Regions from separate parts of the Homo sapiens genome. Here region 1 is linked to region 2. Evidence: promoter capture Hi-C in 16 types of primary human blood cells and fetal thymus (Javierre and others, 2016). All regions are on one chromosome and are shown on one strand. Each heading gives the region's core, a stretch centred on a gene start or on the middle of the fragment in contact. The rest is flanking DNA. Distances are from core to core; before and after follow the strand shown.

Region 1 (5,850 bases), core at 2,292-4,791, 230 kb after region 2:
AATGCTTTCCACTGAATTTTAATTGCATTTGGAATGAAATCTAATTTTCTTACAAAGTTCTTAAAGATCTTCTGTGACTTGCTCCCTGACTACTGATTCTGACCTTATCTCATATCCCCTTCCACCTCTGCTTCTTCCCTTGAGCTCCAGCCACACTGGTCTTTCTGTGTTTTAAGCATGCACGTTCAGTCTTGTGTTTTCTGTTCCTGGTGCTTTGTCTTGCTCCCTCATTTTAAAAATCATTTAGGCCTGAGTTTAAGTGTAGCTTCTTCAGTGAGGTCTTCACTGAGCATATTTTCCAAAGTAGTGTTGTTTTTCAGTTCCCCAATCCCGTTCCTGTTTCATTTATTCACACCTGTTTTATTTCCTTTATTGCATTTGACTATCTGATTAGAATCCATTCATTCATTCAGCAAATACTGTGCACCTAATCTATGCTAGGCATTGTTCTAGGTACTTGGGATTTACCATGAACAACAACAACAACAAAAACCAAAAGAGAATCCCTGTTCTTATATTCACATTAGTAGGATAGAGAGAGAAACAGTACATAATATACATGATATGTAATTAAATTATAAATATGTTAGTATGTTAGAAATAGACAAAATGGATTATGGTAGAGGAGATTGGGAGAACTGGTTGAGGGTTAGAGGCAGCTTACAAATTAAATAGGGTAGTTATGGTAGACCTCTTGAGTTGATTTATTAAAGTAGAGTTCTTTTGTTTCTTTTACTTTTAGCTTCAGCGCCAGTCAGCAAAGTAAATAAATACTGTGCTTCTTCCAACTTTCATTCCACTTGGGGAAAAAAAAATATCATCATGTCAAACATTACGATTGACCCAGATGTCAAACCTGGTGAATATGTCATCAAGAGCCTCTTTGCAGAATTTGCTGTTCAAGCTGAAAAGAAAATTGAAGTTGTAATGGCCGAACCCTTGGTGAGTACAGCTGACCTATAAATCTGAAATATTTTCTTGACTTTTGTATTAACCACTATAATGCAGATTTTTCAAAGGAAATAATATACTTGAAAAAAATATTAAGGGATAGTGGTGATGTAGAAAGCTGCACTGACTTTAGAATCCACTTTGATAAGTTGCTGCAGGTCGCAAAAGAACAAAAAGGAACTTCAACAGTGGGAATTGTGGAAACAAATAAAACATAGGAAATAAAGGAAAATTAGGATATAATGTGAGTTAACACTAAGGTCACAGCCAAACTTATAATAAACAAGAGAACATATTTTACATGTATATTGTGTGAGACATACTTGGAGAATGTGAGAAGCTCTATTTGATTAGAGCCCATGATGAGGAGGAGGGAAGAGAAAGACTGAAAACAAACACATGGGTCAGTTTCTAAAGAGTTGTAAATGCTATTGTGATGGATAATATGGTGGTTGAACAATAGAGAGAGAAGACATTGAGAGCGGAGACTATTTAGTTATTGTACATAGTTCAGGCTGGAATGAAAGGGGTCTTGAACTATGGTGTTAGAAGTAGAAATGGTTGCAGAAGAAAGTAAGAGAAATAACAGAAGTAAAATCAATAGAACTTGACAAGTAACTAAGTAGGGGGCATTTTGAATGAAAGTTAAGGGTTAAAGATGCTCTGGAGTGTTAGTAAAGATGATAATATATTTACTTTGGTAAAGTACACAGGAATATCTTTGGGTAGAAAAGGTGGATAAAATAATTTTTCGTTTGCGTACCTTAAGCTTGAGATACTGATGATCTCACCACATGGAATTAGTTGCTTGATTGGTAGTTGGAAATTCTTTTTGAGAACTCAAGAGATGGTAACTAGAAATACAGATTTTGGTATCATCTATATGAGGGTGTAAATTGAAGCCAAAAGAGCAAATGATGATTTCAAGGGAAAGAAAATATAGAATTATTATTGCCAATGACGTAGAGCAGCAAAGTACAATGAACATTGAGAGAAGTGGTTATTGGATTTGGAAATAAGCAGAAATAAAACAGAACAGTTTTACCTTCTTGATATAATTACAGGAAGTAACTTTGACTCTCTGCCAACTTAAATAGGTGACAGTTTAGGTTACTCTTTGGGCTGGAAGGAAGTGGGTATGTGATGTACTAAGAACACAGTGTAGGTTCGATGTGGGATGTTGGGAATGGAGAGGAAGGCGAAGGATGTTGTAACAGCTGAAACTCACTCCTTACACAACTGAATTAGGGATAGCTATTCACCACCAATTTCAGATTCAGAGGGTTTGTGACGGCGCACTGAGGAGTTAGGCACAATAATATATTGGCTTTAGAACCTGTGTGCTTACTCAGCCTGTTATAGTTCCTTAGAAGGATGAGAGAGGAAAACAACAGAAGGGAGGACAGGGCAGGAAGAAAGTTGAAGGAAGTATTGTCAATGCTCTTATTTTCTTAGTGAAGTAGCCTTGAAATTGCTGTGAAGGTGAGTTTCTTCTCAATGATTAAGTAGAGAAAACTACTCTGAGGAAAGCATCTATGAAATAATATGTTCCGGGATCTGATACATAATAATAGCCAAATGTATATTTCAAAACTGTGCAGATGTTTATATTCAGTTTAAATCATCCCATGATTGCTTTCCACATAGCAAATTGATTTTTATACTAATGTATATATATTTTTTGTGTATATTGTATAATGTATATATAGTATATATATAGACAGCATATATATTATTAATATAAAGTTCTGTTTTAGAAGTAAGGATTACAAAAGCCTATAGCATAAGTTCATGATTATAAGATTTGATTATAGATATGCTTAAACTACAAAATGTTAGTTTTCTTTTTCAATGGTCTCTGAATTACATGATAAATTACTACACTAGTCTACTTAAACAGCATACAGTAAGGGAACAACTCTAAACAAATTGAAGAATTTATTATGGAAAATGTCAAACATATATAAAACTAAAGATTATGGTATAATGAACACTTAGGACCCATCACCTGGCCTCAGCCATTTTCAAGTCACACAGCACATTTTAAAAACACTTTATTTTATAAAATGTTTTATAGTAGTATCATGTGATACAGTCCTACCAGTTCTCAATTTTTATATATATATTTATATATTTGAGATTTTGTGTGCGCATATATATATATATATATATATATATATATATATATATTTTTTTTTTTTTTTTTTTTTTTTTTTTTTTTTTTTTGGAGAGACAGGGTCTTGCTGTGTCTCCCAGGCTGGAGTTCAGTGGCGCAATTTTGGCTCACTGCAACCTTCACCTCCCAGGTTCAGGCAATCCTCCCACCCCAATCTCCTGAGTAGCTGAGACTACAGGCATGCGCCACCACACCTGGCTAATTTTTGTGTTTTTGTAGAGATGAGATCTCACCCAAGCTGGTCTCAAACTCCTGGGCTCAAGTGATTCACCTGCCTTGGTCTCCCAAAGTCCTGGGATTATAGACCCACCGCCTCTGGCCATATTATATATTCTCATTCCAAACTTCCCATATATTCCCTCTAACTTAGTCATCCCCCCCTAAGCTAAATGAATATGTATTTTACTGTAATAATTTGTACATACTTCTAGATTATGATGATATCACGTTATAGTTAATTGCTTACATGTTTATCTTCTCCGATGTGAGTTACTCGATACCAGGAACCAGGTCTCTCTCATCTCTGTATCTGTGGCACTGCTTGTGGTGGTGGGTACTCAGTAGAGGGTTTTTGTTAAATATTAGTATTTTAATGAATGTAGCCTTAAGAAGTATTGCTGTGGTGTGTGCCTTTTGTTTTTCTAATAATAATAATAATAATAATGTTTTCATTCTAGCCAGAGCTTCCGATAGTTCTTTCAGAATAGCCTGATGCTATTCATTTATCTTATTAGTTAATTCATTTATTTAATAGTTAATTTTAGAGGCATCTGCTATGTAATCTGAGATTATAAAATTATGATTAATAGTGGTAAGGATTTCATCAGAACGTAGATGTTTCTACTCTGCCATCACAAATAGAAGAGGCATCACTGCTTACTCTTCCTGACACACCAGGAAAACCCCCAAATCACCATCATATTTTACAGATTTTACCCCTTACACTCCTATATACCAAGATAATTTCTTCTTATCTAGAGCAGAGTGCCAGCTTTGTTTTTATTTATGTCCAAGTCTGGGTAAGTTGGGAATCCATAGCTTCAAGATTAGATAATGAAAATACATTTAATCTAATATTGTCACAGTTTTTACAATATAGCTTCAAATGCTTTTATTGGAATTTCATTTATTTTGAAATTTATTCTGTACCCTTTTAGGTAATAATCATCTAAGATGACTCTCTGGGTTCAGAGTCACTTTAAAGAAAATAGCATCCAGGGCTTGTCAGATACAAGGAGGCTGGCCTTGCTCATGGTCAGTCAGGTAGTAGGTTTCAAAAACACAAATGTGAATGGCTTTTGCTGAAAGAATTTAATCTACCACTAAAATGAGAGAATTGGCTTTTTCATTCTTACATTAGAAACCATAATAAAAGAAGATTAAGGAAGCCAAAAGACTCGAAGATTAGCTGAGTTGGATTTTTAGCCACAATTTCATTTTCATTTTAGAAGGAAGATTCAAGAAGGGCAATTGGTGATTGAAATGGCAACTTGCAGGCTATGCAATCCAATACCTTAGGTCCTTTTTTCCTAAAAGGAGATGGATCAATCCTCGGTAATAACCTAGGTATATCCAAGTTTATCTGTTAATCTTTTAGATTGCTGGGGACTAGAAAAGAAGATAGAAGAAAATCCATTTACCTATCTTCTTCTGATTTAGACCTTATGTTTTGATTTAGGCCCAGCATTTTAAAAACTCTAAAATTTTCACTATTTTTTTTGAGAGTATAAATATATGTATGTGTCTTAAAGGGTTTCTTCTCCCTGTATGGTCAGTTTCTTCCAAACTGCATTTTTCTGCTGGTTTTACCTTCTCCTCACATGTTTATTTTAACTTGTTATATTTTAAGAATGAAACACAGTTGATTGGAAGTCCAGTGTACACAGAGGAGCCTTTTTGACTGTGATCTTCTGTGTATTACTGTCAATGGACCATCAGTGTCAGATCTTTTTTGGGGGACTTGTCAGAGTCCCCAAAGAAGGTTCCTACAGTACTCTGAATGGGAGAGTTTAGGCTTTAGCTGCAAGCATTCTGGGGAACTAGACTCAGAAGATAACTGGGGTTTTTGATATTTGGTTTATATATTCTTGCTTAACCTCCCTATCTTCAGTATGGTACCTCTTCAACCATTGTATGCCCCAGTCAGCATCATTGTATTTTGCCCTTTCCTAAGAAAGGCAATGCCTCTGAAGGTAAAGTGAAAGGGAGGGTCTAAATCTTTCTTAAACAAGCTTTTTAAAACAATCTTTCAATCAGCCCTCTTATTTTTATCCTCACCTTTAGCCATACTTTCAGAGTACCCAAGTTCTCCAATTCCTGAGCCTTCTGGGAAGTTCTAAAGCATCAGTTGGGTTATCTTTCCTTTACTCTCTGTGGGTCAAGCTCACTCACTTCCCTCTGGTTGTGCCTCAAGTGTCATCTTCTCTATGATCATGTTATCTGAAATTTCAGTCCCCATTCCAACTTCCTGTCCTAAATCTGTCTGACATAATATACACTTCTTTACTCTCTAATTAGACTGTTAACTCTGTAAGAGAGCGAGTTGTTTTCCGTTTTGTTATGGCTGTATCTCCAGAACCTAGAACAATGTCTGGCATACTGTGAACCCAGTAAATAATTTGGACAAATGAGTGAATGACTGACTGAATGAACAGACTGCCGACTTTCCCCTTTGCTTACTCAGGAGTCACCGTTGTTTGGTGAGATAATTAGTTATGGTCTTC
Region 2 (6,481 bases), core at 916-3,415:
AAGTTCAGGCCTTCAGACAGAGAAATGGTATTCATGACGCTTTTATTCATGAAGCTTTACCCAAGGAGCCTCATCCATACCTTATCCTGATTAGATGATCAGCTCCTAGACTTTGAGCTTTTGTAATGGCATAGGAAACAGAGGTCCTCAGGAAAGGGATGTGAATTACAGCTGCCAAATGATAGACTGAAAGATGGCTGCGGTATCTCCCATCCCATGTGTTCTTTCTAAAATGTGACTAGGTGGGGGTCTATTGGTCCAGGTTCCTAACGTCCACTATAAAATGGTGTAGTATTTACATATAACCAATGCACATCCTCCTATATACTTTAAGTCATTTATAGATTACTTGTAATGCCTAATGTAAATGCTATGTAAATAGTTATTACAATGTATTGTTTGGGAATAACAAGAGTTCAGTACAGACAACCATCCATTTCTCTCCCTCAAATATTTTCAATCTGCAGTTGATTGAATCTGCAGATACGGAACCCACAGATACGAAGGGTCACTGTACACCAATTTTTCTTTTTAACATAATATCAGTCTCTGTGATGTATACCAAATTTTTATTGTTTTAGAATTTACAAATTCTTTAAAAATGCTTTTTAAGGCATTTACCTATTTACTATATTATCAATTTATCTACATAAATCACATTCATTATATTTTTATTTTTTTAGACACAGGGTCTCACTCAGTCGCACAGGCTGGAGTTCAGTGGTGTGACCACAGCTCACTGCAACCCAGAACCACTGGGTTCAACTGATCCTCCCAACTCAGCCTCTTAAGTAACTAGGACTACAGGCACACGACACCATCGCCAGCTAATTTTTATTTTTTTGTAAAGACAGGGTCTCGCTTTGTTGCCCAGGCTGGTCTCAAACTCCTGGACTCATGCAATCCTCCCACTTCGGCCTCCCAAAGTGCTGGGATTACAGGCATGAACCACTGCCCACTGCCTCCAGCCATATTATAGATTTATAGCCATATTATAGCCATATTATAGAAATATTATAGATGACTTTATTTCCTATACCTACATGATTATAACTAGCTTAAAAATAAATCAATAAATTACAAACAATAAAACCATAAAATCAAGGAAGATGAGGGCTGTTGCATGTTCCTTTACATTTTATTTGCCATAAACATTAAGATAATACAGAAAATACTGGAGAAAAAAAGCTTTTTAATAATTTCTTGATGCAAAGCTTCACACTTAAAAATTATGCTTGCTCCCCCCATCCACCCCAATTCAACATGCAGATATCATTTATTTTCTTATATGCTGATTCTAGAGCATTGTAATCTCGACGGTTTTTTAAGAGTTATCTTTGCCCTTGCAACAATTTCACAAACTGTATACAATCATGGTATAATACCATCATTCAAATGAATCCCTAAGGTGAGTACATTTACACAATATTAACACTAAAAATCTGTGTTTTTTTAAAACACCATAGAAGTCAAACCACAAAAACCCAGGATCTTGTTTTAAATGTGTTTATGAAGACTGCTGCTGAGCTCAAAGCATGCAGGTAATCATGACCACCTAGATGAAGCTGGATGTTGAAACTCCTTCATGTCCAATGATGTAATTTTTCACTCATCCCAAGTATCTCCATACTTGTTTACTTTGACTAGGAAAAAAGCATAAATAATTGATGATTCCAAGCAATAATAAGTAAAAGACATTATTTTAAGTTTGTTGCTATGATGAAAAGTTATGTTTCTCTCTCATTTGAATAAAAGCACATGAGAGTCAAATTATAATTACAAAAAGGGGATGACCAGACTTTTGTGAACTTGGGGTTGGACAAATGCATTGTATCTAGAATTTTACATAAATAGTTAGTCCTCATAACAAACTTCTAAACACAATTCTCATTTTAATGGTGAGAAAAAAGATTAGTAACTTGCCCAAGGTACAAGCCCTAACAAGAACTGAGATTTGAGTATAGGTCTGTTTAGATCCAAAGCCTAGGTACCTTTACATCTTTACCATACTACCTAAGTGTGGCACATATTAAGCCATATACAAAAAAAAAAAAAAATAGTGGGAAATAATAAAACAAACATTTGAATTTTCGTTTTTCACAAAAAATACAGCAGTAGAAATGGTCAAGTGTTCAAGTTGTAATTAATTCAATCTTCTCTCTCAGGGCTGTAAATACTACTATAAGAAGAAAATACTACTACATTTTACAGGTACTCTATATTTTACATTTTAAAACATGCTCCGCTGTCTATTCTACTCCTTTACTTTTTTGCTTCTCTTCCACATAGCTTCTGTCTGTGAGTAATCATAACAATATAAAGCAGCAGTTATCACAGTGTGGACTCTTCAGGGAATACATGAAGTCAAAATTATTTCATTATTATACTAAGACATTATATATCCTTATGTTTCACATTTTGCCTTTTCCCCTTGCTCTCATTCCCTCATGAGTATATGTTACATGGTTTTCTAGAAGCTACAGGATGTGTGGTGACATTGCTCTGGCAGCTAATGGAATATGTGCTTGAATTTTTTAAATTTCTGGGTCTTAATTTCTAATTAGATAAATATCAACCACATAAGCTAAAGGTGAAAACTTTAAGTGACACTTTCTGACCATGTGAATCTACCCTGTACTAATTTCAACAATAATTCAGAAAATGACTGAAACTATTTCATAACAAGTCTTTTCTTTAAATTATATAAAGCACACAAAAAACCAGCTTTTCCCAAAAAAAGAAAAAATCATTTCACATTCTTGTGTCATGTAACAGAACTTGAAGACTTCAGTCAAAAATCAAAAATGTCAAAATCCAGCAAATGTTAAAGGTCTACCAAATTTCCTTTCTTAACCTCTATTACCATAGAAGCCTAAACCAAAATACTCAATTTCTGATACAGTGTAAAGTACTATGCTATGCAGACAATAATAGAAAAGATTACAAAAATGAGAAAAATATTACTTTCTGCCCTCACAGAGCTTACAATCTAAATCCTCAAATTAATTAGCAGGACAAAGTACCGACAAGTCTTTACATATTACAGAGCAATGGCCACTAGATGCAGTTTATGCTAAATGTTGTTTGATGACAAACATTCAAAAGTATGGTACATCCCTAATTCATTTCAAAGGTAGATTTTTTTTACATCAATAATATGATGCAGATATTATCTATCATTGTTATAAAAACAGAACTCCAAACGAAGCAACCGCTAATGATTAAAAATAAAATTAGCTCTAAAAAATGACCATAACAACAAATACTAAGGACTTTCATGTATTTTTGCATTCTTTGTGGCATATGACCTTCAAGAAGGTACCAAAGACCTATTATTTCCATTTTTAAAGTAGTAAATAGAAAATCTTGAAACAATGACACATACTCTGAAATTCCTTAAGAGAAAATCATAAAACCCTATACTGAAATAGCTATAAAACCCTATTCGAATGTCCTCTTCCTTTAGAGGTAAACTTGTATCAAAAAATTTACTTTGGCTAATGTATAGCTATTCCAAAAAGACTTAAAAGAAACCAGGATTTAAAAATTCATCTTTAAGAAATGCCTTAGAAGCTGGCATATAACTCTTTCAAATTCACAAATGTACAAGAAAGGTCAGGCACAGTGGCTCCCACCTATAATCCCAGCATTCTGGGAGGCCAAGGTGAAAGGACTGGTTGAGCCCAGGAGTTTGAGACCAGCCTTGGCAACATAGGGAAAAACCCACTGCACCAAAAAAAATTTTTAACAGCCAGGGATGGTGGCATACAACTGTAGTCCCAGCTACTCAGGAAGCTGAGGTAGGAGGACTGCTTGAACCCAGGAGGTCAAGACTGCAGTAAGCCATGATTACACCACTGCACTCCAGCCTGGGTGACAGAATAAAACCATCTCAAAAAGAAAAAACAAACAAACAGAACAAAAAAACACGAGAAAAACCCAAATGTACAAGAAAATCAATCTCATTACTCAATCATTCTGTGGTTAGGCCACAAGTGGTATTACAGCGCAACGCCAACCTCAGGTCACTACAGCAACTTATGCGATAGATGTATCATTAGGAAAATAAGACTATCAGATCTCCAAGGAGATTTGTTGTAAGAGAGAAACAGTCAAATGAGTATGTCTCTACCCTGTGTTAAACTAATCTTGCTGTCTTAAGACTTACTATTTGGACTTCACTATTTTCTTCCTTTTTTTGGCGGGGGGAGGGGGGAACAGAGCCTCGCTCCGTCATCCAGGCTGCAGTGCAGTGGCGTGATGTCGGTTCACTGCAACCTCTGCCTCCTGGGTTCATGCAGTTCTCCTGCCTCAGCCTCCCGAGTAGCTAGGATTACAGGCATGCACCACCATGCCCAGCTGATTTTTGTATTTTTAGTAGAGACAAGGTATCGCCATGTTGGCCATGCTGGTCTCCAATTCCTGGCCTCAAGTGATACACCCAGCTTGGTCTCCCAAAGTGCTGGGATTTCAGGCATGAGACACCACACCTGGCCTTGACTTCATTATTTTCTAACACAAAATGGCCTTTGGAACACCTTAAAAATGGAAAACTGGCCGGACACGGTGGCTCAAGCCTGTAATCCTAGCACTCTCAGAGACTGAGGCAGGCGGATCACAAGGTCAAAAGATCGAGACCATCCTGGCCAACATGATGAAACCCCATCTCTACTAAAAATACAAAAAATTAGCTGGGCGTGGGGGCCTGTAGTCCTAGCTATTTGGGAGGCTGAGGCAGGAGGATTGCTTGAATCCAGGAGGCAGAGGCTGCAGTGAGCCAAGATCGTGCCACTGCACTCCAGCCTGGCGACGGAGCAAGACTCCGTCTCAAAAAAAAAAAAAGAACTGATAACTGTAAAGTACTATTTTAAAAATATTTTACTTTGGTTAATTGCTTGAAGAGTTAAATCACATATTAATTAATTTTTTATAGTATTGTTTTAAAGTAATGTTTTAGTTTCCAATCCTCAACAGTAAAGTGATTCAGACTAAACTATCATACCTTCTTTTTTTGGCACTCTTTCATGCATAGGCCTGACTGAGGGGTCAGTCTTTTGTGTTAAAGATACTTCATATGACTCTCTGTTCTTATTCCTTAATTCCTCATATGTAATATTTTTTCTTTTAGGACTTTCTTCAAGGTTGGGATCAGGTCCTAAAACAACAAACAGTTAATAAATGGTAATAAAAGGATTTGTATAACTCTAAAGCAACTAAATTTTACAAATGCTCCTTACAAAAGGAGCTACAATCAAAATAGAATAAAGAATCAAATTATTACCACCATTTCACAGGTACTATACTTTCACCAAGATAATCATCAAACTGAAATCTACTTCCACCCATATTTTTAAGCTTTTATTTCTAAAAATTAAAATGGACATCAAAAATTTTAAAAACTAAACCACAGCCAGAAGAAAAATATGTATCATAATATATAACAGTACAATTTAAACTCATTAAAATACCAGTGTTTTAAACTGGAGTTACTCATACTGTATACAGAATTAAAAGAGAAATATATTCTACTAGGGACAACTGAATAAAACTTGACATAGCATAGATTTTACTCAATATATAGTTAAATAGTCCTATAACCACAGACTCTATGAAAACAACTCCAGCTATTTTCAAAAATCATTTATTTTACCTTTTTACAAAATTTAAACAAAAATACTGAAAATAGGCCAGGCACAATGGCTCACAACTATAATCCCAGCACTTTGGAAGGCCGAGGCGGGCGGATCACCTGAGGTCAGGAGTTCAAGACCAGCCTGGCCAACAAGAAACCTCATCTCTACTAAAAACACAAAATTAGTTGGGCGTGGTGGCACACACCTGTAATCCTAACTACTAAGGAGGCTGAGGCAGAATCGCTTGAACCCAGGAGGCGGAGGTTGCAGTGAGCTGAGATCGCGCCATTGCACTCCAGCCTGGGCAACAAGAGCAAAACTCTGTCTCAAAAAAAAAGGAAAAAAAGTTGAAAATAATTACTTGAAAAGTATAAAACATAGCCTTTAATCAGAATATGTGTTGTTTTCATTCCAGTCTAACAGATGCAATGTTGATGCAGAAGAAAGTATCAACTGTTATTTTGGCCTGGGAACTAACATTTATTCTTTATTTCTCCCAAAGAGAGTCAAAATGTGAATATTACATATTATCATAGAGTCAAATGTAAATATAATGCAGTGGTTACTCCTAATATTGGTTGACAGGATCAAATAGTGAACATAGTTTATACAATTTATAAACAGCAAAAAAGGCCATATGAACATTAAAAAAAAAAGATGCTAACATTCAGTGAACAACTACTTAACTTACAAAGTCTTACCTACCACATACCACACCAAAAGTACTGTTTTTCAAAGATGTTTTCAATAAGACATACAAATTGGGCATATACTTTTAATATTAACTTTTTAAAAAATAATTTTTGTGATACTTATTTAGAACTCAAAGGTAGGATCCCAGTGAATAA

The links. Contacts are between HindIII fragments. The CHiCAGO score rates a contact against its expected background, and 5 or more counts as called.
Region 1: a fragment that was not itself captured here is called in contact with the fragment with the promoter of OCIAD1-AS1 in region 2 in 4 of 17 cell types (M2 macrophages, naive CD4 T cells, naive B cells and 1 more); the score reaches 6.1 in M2 macrophages.

Annotation. Positions count from the first base shown.
Region 1 is chr4:48,629,383-48,635,232 of GRCh38, reverse strand. FRYL (FRY like transcription coactivator) reads left to right here. Exons shown (of 64, transcript NM_015030.2): 4 at 743-942. The coding sequence starts at 823. Among named protein-coding and RNA genes, the nearest start is that of ZAR1, 140 kb to the right of the region's middle. The HindIII fragment of the contact is 3,638 bases long and covers 1,723-5,360 here.
Region 2 is chr4:48,855,887-48,862,367 of GRCh38, reverse strand. It overlaps OCIAD1-AS1 (OCIAD1 antisense RNA 1), which reads left to right and starts at 2,165. Exons shown (of 2, transcript NR_146806.1): 1 at 2,165-2,211. OCIAD1 (OCIA domain containing 1) reads right to left here. Exons shown (of 9, transcript NM_017830.4): 8 at 5,003-5,155; 9 at 553-1,643. The coding sequence ends at 1,606. The HindIII fragment of the contact is 4,141 bases long and covers 1,217-5,357 here.